Regions from separate parts of the Homo sapiens genome. Here regions 1, 3 and 4 are each linked to region 2. Evidence: promoter capture Hi-C in 16 types of primary human blood cells and fetal thymus (Javierre and others, 2016). All regions are on one chromosome and are shown on one strand. Each heading gives the region's core, a stretch centred on a gene start or on the middle of the fragment in contact. The rest is flanking DNA. Distances are from core to core; before and after follow the strand shown. Region 1 overlaps LOC105369669. Region 2 holds the start of ERP27 (endoplasmic reticulum protein 27). Region 3 has its middle 7.0 kb from the start of H2AJ. Region 4 overlaps GUCY2C-AS1 (GUCY2C antisense RNA 1).

What was found. Contacts are between HindIII fragments. The CHiCAGO score rates a contact against its expected background, and 5 or more counts as called.
Region 1: a contact is called between a fragment that was not itself captured here and the fragment with the promoter of ERP27 in region 2, in 2 of 17 cell types (naive CD8 T cells and total CD8 T cells). The highest score is 6.3, in naive CD8 T cells.
Region 3: a contact is called between a fragment that was not itself captured here and the fragment with the promoter of ERP27 in region 2, in 6 of 17 cell types (total CD8 T cells, naive CD8 T cells, naive CD4 T cells and 3 more). The highest score is 8.8, in total CD8 T cells.
Region 4: a fragment that was not itself captured here is called in contact with the fragment with the promoter of ERP27 in region 2 in 6 of 17 cell types (total CD8 T cells, naive CD8 T cells, naive CD4 T cells and 3 more); the score reaches 9.7 in total CD8 T cells.

The regions. Positions count from the first base shown.
Region 1 is chr12:14,743,466-14,746,358 of GRCh38, reverse strand. All of the region lies in intron 2 of LOC105369669, which reads left to right. Among named protein-coding and RNA genes, the nearest start is that of H4C16, 26 kb to the left of the region's middle. The HindIII fragment of the contact is 1,207 bases long and covers 897-2,103 here.
Region 2 is chr12:14,937,052-14,939,934 of GRCh38, reverse strand. ERP27 (endoplasmic reticulum protein 27) reads left to right here and starts at 1,398. Exons shown (of 7, transcript NM_152321.4): 1 at 1,398-1,520; 2 at 1,883-1,983. The coding sequence starts at 1,427. RefSeq lists an enhancer at 1,883-1,942. The HindIII fragment of the contact is 1,334 bases long and covers 293-1,626 here.
Region 3 is chr12:14,780,041-14,782,740 of GRCh38, reverse strand. No RefSeq gene overlaps it. Among named protein-coding and RNA genes, the nearest start is that of H2AJ, 7.0 kb to the right of the region's middle. The HindIII fragment of the contact is 4,266 bases long and covers 1-2,700 here.
Region 4 is chr12:14,722,448-14,725,269 of GRCh38, reverse strand. The region is part of intron 5 of GUCY2C-AS1 (GUCY2C antisense RNA 1); the gene reads right to left. Among named protein-coding and RNA genes, the nearest start is that of GUCY2C, 27 kb to the right of the region's middle. RefSeq lists an enhancer at 1,120-1,309. The HindIII fragment of the contact is 2,358 bases long and covers 326-2,683 here.

The DNA of each region.
Region 1 (2,893 bases), core at 251-2,750, 190 kb after region 2:
AACAGGATAACAGCAATGTTCAGGGAACAAGAGAGATAACCTTAAACTCTGACTACTGGTGAGCCGGGAGGAACACAGCCATATTTCTCTTCTTTCAAAAGCAAATGGGAGAAATATCATCGCTGAATTCTTTTTCTCAGCAAGGAACATCCCTGAGAAAGAGAATGCACCCCTGAGGGTCGGCCTCTAAAATGGCCCCCTTGGGTGTGGCCGTCTTCTATGGTCAAAACTGTAGGGATGAAATAAGCCCCAGTCTCCCATAGCGCTCCCAGGCTTATTAGGATGAGGAAATTCCCACCTAATAAATTTTGGTCAGACTGGTTGCTCTCAAACCCTATCTCCTGATAAGATGATATCAATGACAATGGTACCCGAAACTTCATTAGCAATTTTAATTTCGCCCCAGTCCTGTGGTCCTGTGATCTCGCCCTGCCTCCATTTGCCTTGTGAGATTCTATTACCTTGTGAAGCACATGATCTCTGTGACCCACACCCTATTCGTACACTCCCTCCCCTTTTGAAAATCACTAATAAAAACTTGCTGGTTTCATGGCTCGGGGGGCATCACGGAACCTACCGATATGTGATGTCTCCCCCAGACACCCAGCTTTAAAATTTCTCTCTTTTGTACTCTGTCCCTTTATTTCTCAACCTGGCTGACGCTTGGGGAAAACAGAAAAGAACCTACGTGACTACAGGGGGCAGGTTCCCCGATACTTCATTATTCTTCTTACACTTTTAATTTTTTGGAGTACTTTTTCTGTATATTTTCTGTATATTTTATATATAGTTTTTTTCTGTGTATTTTATAATGGAGGCTTCCCTCTAATGCCAGATAATATTTAAGCTTCCCATTCATATTTAATAGTGCGGCACTGGAAAGCTGATTGCAAGCTTTGTACTTAAGTTCTACCTGTTGACCAATGACTTTCTCTGTAGGGTAACAGGTAGGGACTTATTTTTAAGTGAATCATTAGCTGCCAGTATCCTTAGGTTTTTTTTTTTTTTTTTTTGCTATGTCAGTTTTCCATGAGAATCCTCTGCCTGTACAATAATAAGTCTACATGTAAACAAACCCAAAGTTGTGGACTGGAGCTTGGGGTCTCATTTTTCAGTGTGTAGGTTTCTAGTCCCTACCCCTTTCAGTTCAGCCTCCTCACCTTTCTGCTGTCCTGAGTGTGAAGGATAGCAGATGTCTATCCTTCACATTGAATCCTCTGATTCAGTGTCTCCAGAGAATAAACCTCCCATCTCTGTTGAGGTAAGGGTGGGCCGCACAGGCTCTAACTGATTCTCAAACCAACTTTAAACCAGACCTTCTGTTTTCAGCCCTATCTGCACAACTACCTTCAGAGGCATCTTGCATTTTTAATTTCTGACACTTTTGGAGTTCCTCAATGCAAGTGGAAGTTGCTTTTTTTGGCTCTCCCCTGAACTTGTAGAGTACATAGTTTTCATCTTTATTCAGTCTTCTAAGTGAATTTTCTCATGTCCATATTCTCTCTAATTTTTCCCAATTTTCTTGCCATCTCTGGTCAGCTGTTATCTTCTCTTTTTTTTCTTTTACAGTTTGTATTTTTTTAATCTATGCATTATCATTTTAGAGAAATAAGGAGAAGCAAAGATAAGCATATACATTTAATCCACTGCACTTAACTAGGAGTTTGTATTTAATAATCCACTTTAATCAGATGTCTACCTAACATTTTATTGAATCTTTTCTGCCTCCTTGCTTTTCAGGTTTTTTTTTTTTCTATTCTTGTATCTACCATGTAGGCTTGCCTATTATCTTCATTTAGCATCCTCAGGCAAAGCTATTTTTTATCATTGCCCTTCCATTGCACTGTGTACAATGCTGCTCTTGCTGCCTTGAGTACATATTGATGTAGTACAAATATGTGGATGGATGGCTGTCTTCTGTTTCTCTGGGTGGGGAATTTTTCTACACCCAGGGTCCAACATGGGGCCCGCTACTGACTCATGTTCCTTAAACTTTATTGAATGAAAAAAAAATGCCTCAGAAAATTTAATGGGAAACTCAATGCAAAGACCTGAATGTCCATGGGCCAGTCAAGCTATATTCAGTATCAGGATTTAGAAGCTTCAGAGATCATCTATTTAAACTACTTTGTTTTACAAATGAGAAAACTAAAGCCTAAATGAGGAAAATAAAACTTATTATATGGTATATAGCAGGGACTTTAATTCACATTTTCTAAGATCCTCACCCACAGATATTTCTTCCACAATCTATTTCTTTAAGCAATGACATTTTGATAACCAGAAGTCAGCATATTAATGGCTCTATTGTAAACAATACATTTTGTTTTTGTTACTGAATCTAATTACGTTTGTGAAACATGATACAGATAGCTGTGTACAAAACAAACTGAGGTTAGGAAACTTCAGCAAACCAGATAAAAGGCTGATGTTGGAAACCATGTGAAATGATAAAGATCTGAACTAAGATGGCATATGGAGAAAAATATTGATGGGATATATCAAAAAGCAGAAGAGAGAGATGCATTAAATAATAGGCAGGATAAGGAGGATGTTTGTACCATTTTCAACAATAGGGTGAGTGACACAACAGGAGAACCGTCATCTCAGACAACCACTGCCATTTTAAGTTCCAGCTCCCTTTCTAGCCTCATGCATTTCAAGGAAATCACTTCCCTTCTAATAAGGAGCAGCCAGAAAGAGCAGACAGTAAAACAAAGATAAGACAGCTCCGGCACAGGAGGAAGTGGGGGGAAAGTCTCTGCCAAACTTCACCCTCATACAATGGGCCCCGGTAAAACAGTGGGCCTTAAAAAGCTCATTCCTTTCCCTTCAGGTGCACTAAGAGGCAAGCTAAAAGCAGACTTGGGGGGTATGCCTGCAGCTGCAGGAA
Region 2 (2,883 bases), core at 149-2,648:
GTTCTTGATTTTACTCTCAGCCTGGACATTATTGCTGTATAGAAATGCCACTAATTTTTGTACACTTATTTTTTTCCTGATACCTTACTGAAATCATTCATCAGTTCCAGTAGCCTTTTGGCAGAGTCTTCAGAGCTTTCTAGGCATACAATCATATTGTCAACAAGGAGAAATAGTTTGACTTTTTCTTTTCCTGTTTAGATGCCTTTTATGTCTTCCTCTTGCCTAATTGCCCTGGCTAGGGCTTCCTAATTTCTTTTGTAATATTTTCACATGAAAATTCTCCTAAGCTTAAAACTACATATCCCAATGCCTGTGGAAATCTCATCTTGGACTTCCTCAGACACTTGTGAGCAAAATCAAACTTCATCTCATTCTTCTGCTTAAGACTTTTCAGTGGTTCCCATCACCTACAGAATAAAATTGATGCTCCCGCGCTTAGTGTATCATATAAAGCCTGCTGTGAGCTGGTCCCAACATGCCTTTCTGTCCACATGTATCACTTCCTTCCTTTTCATCATTCTCAATTACTAGTAATTCTGTCACACATTATATTTGCATATCTGTGCTTTGGTTCTTTTTTTTTTTTTTTTTTTTTTTTGAGACGGAGTCTCGCTCTGTCGCCCAGGCTGGAGTGCAGTGGTGCTATTTCGGCTCACTGCAAGCTCTGCCTCCCGGGTTCAGGCCATCCTCCTGCCTCAGCCTCCCGAGTAGCTGGGACTACAGGCGCCCGCCACCACACCTGGCTAATTTTTTGTATTTTTAGTAGAGATGGGGTTTCACCATGTTAGCCAGGATGGTCTCAATCTCCTGACCTCGTGATCCACCTGCCTCAGCCTCCCAAAGTTCTGGGATTACAGGTATGAGCCACCACGCCCGGCCTGTGCTTTAGTTCTTTACATGAAACTCCCTTTCTACCTTGTGTTGCCTGGCAAAATCTTACTTACCCAGAACTCTGCTCCGGCATCCTCCGCAGGAAGAACACTTTCATTGAACCCTAGCATTGTCCCTAATACCCTTAATATGTATTGTCATAGCACCCTATGAATTTTTCTATATCACTTTCCATCTTATATTTAAATAATCTTTTTACTTGCCCATCTCTCCCACTGATAATCTAAGCTGGCAGAGGCTGGATCAGATCATAATTATCTTTCTATTCTTAGCGCTAGGATCAATGCCTGGCATAGCATATTTACATTTTTTATTTAAATAAACTGACCTGACTTTCTTCTGGTTGGATATGTTCTGAGTCCCTATTACTAACCTTGGTCTTTTATCTCAGAAGTTGAAGGCTCCCCTGGAGCCAGCTGCAAAGTTCCCAAAGCCCTAACAACCCCACAGCCAATCAGCTACAGAGTAGGCTGCCCTGAGTCGGCCTCCCCAACACAAAGTCCAGGGTTGGAGCAGGAGCAGGAGAGGGACAATGGAAGCTGCCCCGTCCAGGTTCATGTTCCTCTTATTTCTCCTCACGTGTGAGCTGGCTGCAGAAGTTGCTGCAGAAGTTGAGAAATCCTCAGGTAAAAGAAAAATGTAGTTGGGTGGCTATAGTGTGAAAGTGTTATTAGGAGAAGGAAAGGGAGCATGGTGGTTCTCTGGGTACTTTTCCTCCACACCTAGAAAGCTTTCCAGGAAATCCTGGATAAGTGCATTTTGCCTGGTAGAGAGTAGGGAAGTCTGGCAGTATCCTTCAGAGACAGACCATCAGTAGGGTCACCTTCCATATGTTAGTAAAAATATTATGCCTTGGAATGCCAACAGTACTCCTATAAATTGTGCTCTTCTTGCCCTTAGTATAGAGATAAAAGGTATAGATGCCCTCATTATTTAGAGCTGCTTCTTCTTGCCTCAGTACCCTGACATCTTCTGCTTCTCTCTCTAGATGGTCCTGGTGCTGCCCAGGAACCCACGTGGCTCACAGATGTCCCAGCTGCCATGGAATTCATTGCTGCCACTGAGGTGGCTGTCATAGGCTTCTTCCAGGTTAGTTCCCTACTTGCAATTCCCCCAAGAGCCAGAAATGTTCTACCTTAAGGGAACCACAGCAGCCACCTGCTGCTGGCAGATGGCACTGCATTAGAAGTGGGGGTAAAGGGAGACAGCCACCCAGTTTGATTTCATCTTGTCCATTGGGACCTCTTATTTTCAAGACATTCCCAGTCTCTAAATTATATCTTTCTCATACTTACTTCAAGAGTTCTGAGCCTGTGGGCTGCATCTCCTCATCTATGGATGCTTTGAAGCTCAAGTCAGTATCTGCAGAAAGAATGCCTTCATGGAACCCCACCATTGTCCTAAACACATTTGGTCTATACTCTCATAGCACCCTATGAATAGGCAGGGGCCAGAGTGAACCCAATTTATATCATCCAGCAACACTGTTTACAGGATGCCAAACATCCTGGACATTAGTCAGTGCACAGCCTTTTAAAGCCTTTCCCCCAAATATGGTAGACTCTCCTTCTTTCTCTTTGCCTTGTCTGAAATGTTGGAAAATGATGGCATTTTGTATATTCAAGGTGTTAACCTCCATCTTCCAGATTAGCTTCTTGACTAAGAAAGGCAGCCATAAATGAGACTGCCTCATTCCAGCATTTTCATCTTTCTCTGGTGGTAGCATCTGGAAATCCTCACAGCTGATCAAGCCCCTACTCTCTCATAGCAGACCTTCTTGTCTGTTTCCATTTCTCAGTTACAACTCCTGATTACCCTGTCAGTTCTGCGTACACAGTTGGAAATCACTGCAATGAGATGCAAGTCAGGGAGAAAGACAGGGACAACATTTTTCAGGAATGAGAAATCTGAGCTGTAGACAAAAACACCGTCAGAAAGATGGGGAAGGGGCAAGAGCATGGAATTGGAGGAGTGTGCAATAACTTAAAC
Region 3 (2,700 bases), core at 122-2,621, 160 kb after region 2:
TGATGTTGTTCTGCTAGTTTTTTTATGGGAAAAAAACTAGCAGAACAACATCAGTTATTTCAATAGATGCTTTGTGGTTTGGGGAGCCTTGTATTCTTCATTTTTGTTTCCACACATAGACTGGAACAGGGATCAGCAAACTTTCTCTAAAGGGCCAGATGGTGAGTATTTTGGGCTTTGTGAGCTATACAGTTTCTGTCACTACTCTGGTTTCCTAACATGAAACCTGTACTGAAGGCAGGTAGCCTACCTTACTTGGTGTCCAAATGGAAATAACGCCCTTTCTTCCTGCAAGGTTTCTCTACAGGGCCCTCTACTGAGAAAACTTCTCAGAGCCGAATTTGAAGTTTTAATTTGGAGCTCAGAACCAATAAATTCATAACTGGCACACATGAATCCAAAGAAAACTCAGTGGTCTTTACTTCTACTATCACAACGTTTTAAAACAATTCTTAGCATAGGTTCCTTTGGCAAAAACAAATGGAATATTTCTCAAGCACCTTTTGGCAGGGGCTACTAGCTAGTACTGTTAGCTTATGTGTGCTAGCTAATATAACTGTGTGTGTCACTTTTCTTGAAAAATCTCAAAGGAACTTTAATTAACTGGCAAGCTCCACAACAGAAGTATGTTAAATAGAACAAAGCTAAGAACTAGGAAGTAAGCAAAAATGCTCCAAGAAACTGGCAGAGACAATGGTACTCACCAAAATATTTCATCTTCTCTTCTATATTTCCTGGGCTTCTTTGCAGTTAGATTAAGCCTGAGCTAGTTCTAGTGGATGGGCTGAAGCAAAAAAGAGGTTGTGAGTTCTCTGGGCCCTTGTACCCTGCTGGAAGAGACAAGAGAGAGTTTTGTATGGCTGGTGAGTGGTATAAAGAATGGCAGAAGAACAGGCTGGAATCTGTAAAGCTATAAATTTTATAGACTTCATTTAAGGACTACTCTTATGACAGTTTTGCAACACAGAGGTTTCATCTGGACTGTTTGCTCTTGCTAGAACACTCTGTATATCAAGGGTTTTGTGAGGAGATAACCTTAATCATGTTGTAAAACGTCCAGTGACACTCTTTCCCCAGCAATGGATGCATGCTCATATTATATTTGGACAACTAAGAGGTCTGCCCTCCTAACGCCCTCTTTATACTTTTCTACCCTGCTGTATGCCTCCAGAAGGCTAAACTGTAGATAGGGCATCAATGGGCTTTCTTTTGTCTTCCATTTGGGCTGGGCAATGGGAAACAGGATATTGGAAGAAGGGAGGAAAGTGAGGTCATGGTATTTACCTAATATATACGTTTAAATAAATATAAGTAATATGCATATACAGATATAAAAAATTTAAAGCATGATTTATTATGAGGAACACCTGGAATACCATGTTCAAGAAACAAGGACATTCTTACCCTATGTGAAGACATGGACAAAAAGATACATTCAAGATAGAAAGTTACTTGATAAACATGAAAATGAGGATTTTGTTAGCGGATATGGATGCTTAAAATATGTAAATGTGTAACTAAACTACTCGAAGACAGTAGCTCCCTCTTTTGCATGATGCTTGGACACTGCCAACATTTGCCTTGAGATGTATTTGTCTACTTCCACCGCTGAGCAACCACTCTTCTGGGTGTCACATTATTTTTTAAGCTAATGAGCAAGGGAAAAGCAGCCCATGACCTGGACTATCAGCTAGACTGTGCTGTTGCTAGGAGTTGGCCTGACACAGCTACACTGTGGTGATCTGTTGAACATAAACAATTCACAGAACACTAACACAAGACAAGGCTGTGAAAAATCAAATTAAAAAAAGACCATTCTGTAATCATGTCTGAACAGAAACAAAAACATGAACATTGTCCAAACAACAAAAATGAACAAAAACCCACTATCCTGACTAATATGCATTAGCATATTTACCAATGACAGCTTTAGTTTCACTTCATTCTGCACATTACAGCATTCCTTGCACCCTACTTCCTGACAGGATGCAATTCTGAGCAAAGCCCCCAAATCAACTAACACAAACCCAAATCCTGTAATACACCCTAACAGCCTCTTACTGAGACACCCCACATTTCCCCATGGAATGTGTTCCCCCTTGCTGCAAAGAGAAATAAATCCAACTTGTTCAACTACGAGTATGTTCCTGATGGTCTTGGGCTGGAGGACACAGACAAAAATACAGGTTTGGCCAAAGCTCTCATTGCTTGCACCAGGACTCTCAACGCAGTGCACACATCTGAGACCTCTTGTGACTTAATGTTTATGAGGTGCCACTTGCTCATGGCTGGGAAGTAAGTTCACATTGAACTGAGTTCCTATATTCTGTTGAAGCACTTCAGTGTTGACTTTATGTGTTTCCCTAGGAAGACGGTCTCTTGGAATTTTTTAAATTATCTAATCAGATTTATATTCTTTCATCAAACCATTTTTAGTCTTCTATTCCTTGCTTCTACTGCTTGCTTAATATTTAGTGTTGTCCACAGGGAAAGTTATAAACATAGTTCTGATAAATCTGTTTGCAAGTGACCTCCAAGTGCTAATGAGTTCAGAAGGTCTCCAGACCAGACATCTTAGGATAAATTTTGCCTGGGGTTACCATTTCCAAACCTGATTAAGATGTCTTCCTCAGTCTTGTCTATGTGCGCCTGAGAACTGGACTATTTTGTTTTGTCTGCCTAGACTAATAGCTGGCCCAT
Region 4 (2,822 bases), core at 255-2,754, 210 kb after region 2:
AGATGACCTGAAGCAACTGAAGAACCACAAAAGAAGTGAAAATAGTCAGTTCCTGCCTTAACTGATGACACACCACCACTGTGATTTGTTCCTGCCCCACTCTAACTGATCAATGGACCTTGTGACATTCCTTCTCCTGGACAATGAATCTCAGGAGCTCCCCAGTGAGCACCTTGTGACCCCCACCCCTGCCCGCAAGAGAAAAACCCCCATTAACTGTAATTTTCCACTACCTACCCAAATCCTATAAAACTGCCCCACCCCTACCTCCCTTTGCTGACTCCTTTTTCACTCAGTCCACCTGCACCCAGGAGATTAAAAAGCTTTATTGCTCACACAAAGCCTGTTTGGTGGTCTCTTCACATGGACACACGTAACAGAAACAAATCAGCAAAATGGTGTAATAGGAAGTCACCCACTCATATCCTCTCAAAATTTGTCTGCATTCATCCACAGACAAGTCTCTGTGGTAGGAAGGTAGGAAGGTAGGAAGGTAGGAAGGTAGGAAGCTATGAATCCCTGGTGGAGCCCAAGAGCCAGAAAGACTGTTTTGAGAGTGCAGACCAACAGCCAGGTGGCAGACCTGCTGATCATGCCCCTGGGATTTAAATCTAGAAACAGCCTTGTTTCCCAAAAGGCTTAGGTACAGTCCTGTTTATCCTTGAACCAAAACAATTTGCCAAGGGGTCCAGGAGGAATCATGCACATTAGTACCTTGGCAGAAAGGCTCGTCTGCCCACTGACAACGGTCTTGGAAGTGAATTTGAAAGTTACCTTGTAACTGGGCTCCAGTCCTCCTCATCTGGGATCCCAGCTTATTACTGTTTGTGCAAGAACTCAAGAGAAAGACTCACCAATATCTCACAGTCTAGGGATTACACATGTCAGTCATGTAAGCCTACATGATGGGCACATCAGCCTCCATCCCAAAGCAGATCCTGAGGGGGCCCAATCAACTCCAGCTCCTCAGTCTGGGAACTGTCCCATTTGTGCAGGAAATGACTGTGGGATGTGCACCCACCTGACCTACTGGGGTGAACTCACTGGCCTTGATCTCACAGTGAATTCTGAGGGGAACTAGTCTCAACTTCAGCATCTCCTGAGAACTGCTGGGAGGCTTGCATATCTGGGCCACCAGCCCCCATCCCACAGCAGGTACAGAGGCGGCCCAGGCTCAGCTCCATCTTCTCCTGCTGCAGTTGGGGAACTGGCCTGGAAGCCTCGCCTGTCTGGGCCTATGGGACAGGCTTCCAGACTTGGGTCCCTGGCCAATATTCTCACTCAACTTGGGTACATGCCTTGGATCTTCACCAGGTCCATCTCTGCCAGAGTGCATGCCAACTATGGAACTTTTGTGAAACTGACAACAAATATGGGCTTAGGGCACCCTCTAGTGTCGGAACAGCTGCACTGGTCAGAGTCTTTCATAACAGTCGGCTTGGATAACTGAACAGGCCCACTGAAGAAGCATGGGAACATTTAAAGCCAGACTGTGAAGATTAAAATAAATACCTAATTTTTCGATGTGCAGACATCGAAGTGCAGCCACAATCACCAAGTACAATCGGAATTATGACCTCACTAAACAGGCAAAATAAGGGGCTAGTGACAAATCCCAAAGAGAAGATGTGTGACCTATTAGACAAGGAATTCAAAATAGCAGTGTAAGAAAAAAAATTGCATGGAACCACAAAAGACCCTGAATAGCCAAAGCAATCTTGAGCAAAGAAAAAGAAAGCTGGAGGCATCACAGTAGCTGACTTCAAAATATACTGCAAAACTATTGTAACCAAAACAGCATGGCACTGGAATAAAAAAAAAGAATCACAATGACCAGTGGAATAGAATAGAGAACATAGAAATAAATGCACATATTTACAGCCAACTAATTTTCAATAAAAGTGCCAAGAACACACAATGGGAAAAGGACAGTCTAATAAATGGTGCTTGAAAAACTGGATATATATGCAGAAGAATGAAACTAGATCCTTATCTCACCAACTGCAAAATCAGCTCAAAATAGATTAAAGACTTAAACGTAGCCAGGTGGTGGTGCACATCCATAGACCCAGTTACTCAGGAGGCTGAGGCAGGAGGATCACTTGAGCCCAAGAGTTCAAGGCCAGCCTGGGCAACACAGTGGACATAGTGAGTTCCTATCTCTTAAAAAAAAAAGACTTAAACAAAAGATCCAAAACTACAAGAATAAAATATAGGGTAAATGGGCTGGGTGCAGTGACTCATGCCTGTAATCCCAGCACTCTGGGAGGTCAAGGTGGGTGGATCACTTGAGGTCAGGAGTTTGAGACCAGCCTGGCCAACATGGTGAAACCCCACCTCTACTAAAAATACAAACATTAGTCAGGTGTGATGGTATGTGCTTGTAATCCCAGCTACTTGGGAGGCTGAGGCATGAGAATCACTTGAACCCAGGAGGCGGAGGTTGCAGTGAGCCAAGATCATGTCACTGCACTCCAGCATGGCAGACTCTGTCTCAAAACATCTATCTATCTATCTGTCTGTCTGTCTGTCTATCTATCTATCTATCTATCTATCTATCTATCTATCTCTGGGAAATGGTTCATGGCATTTGTCTGGAGCAAGAATTTTTTTGATAAGACCTCAAAAACACAGGCAACAAAAGCAAAAATAGGTGAATGCAATTACATCAAACTAAAAAGCTTCTGCACAGCAAAGGAAATAGACCAAAGAGAAAGCCTATAGAGTGGGAGAAAATACCTGCAAACTATGCATCTGACAAGGGGTTAATATCTGGATTATACAAAGAACTCAAACAGCCCTACAGCAACCCAAAAAATCCA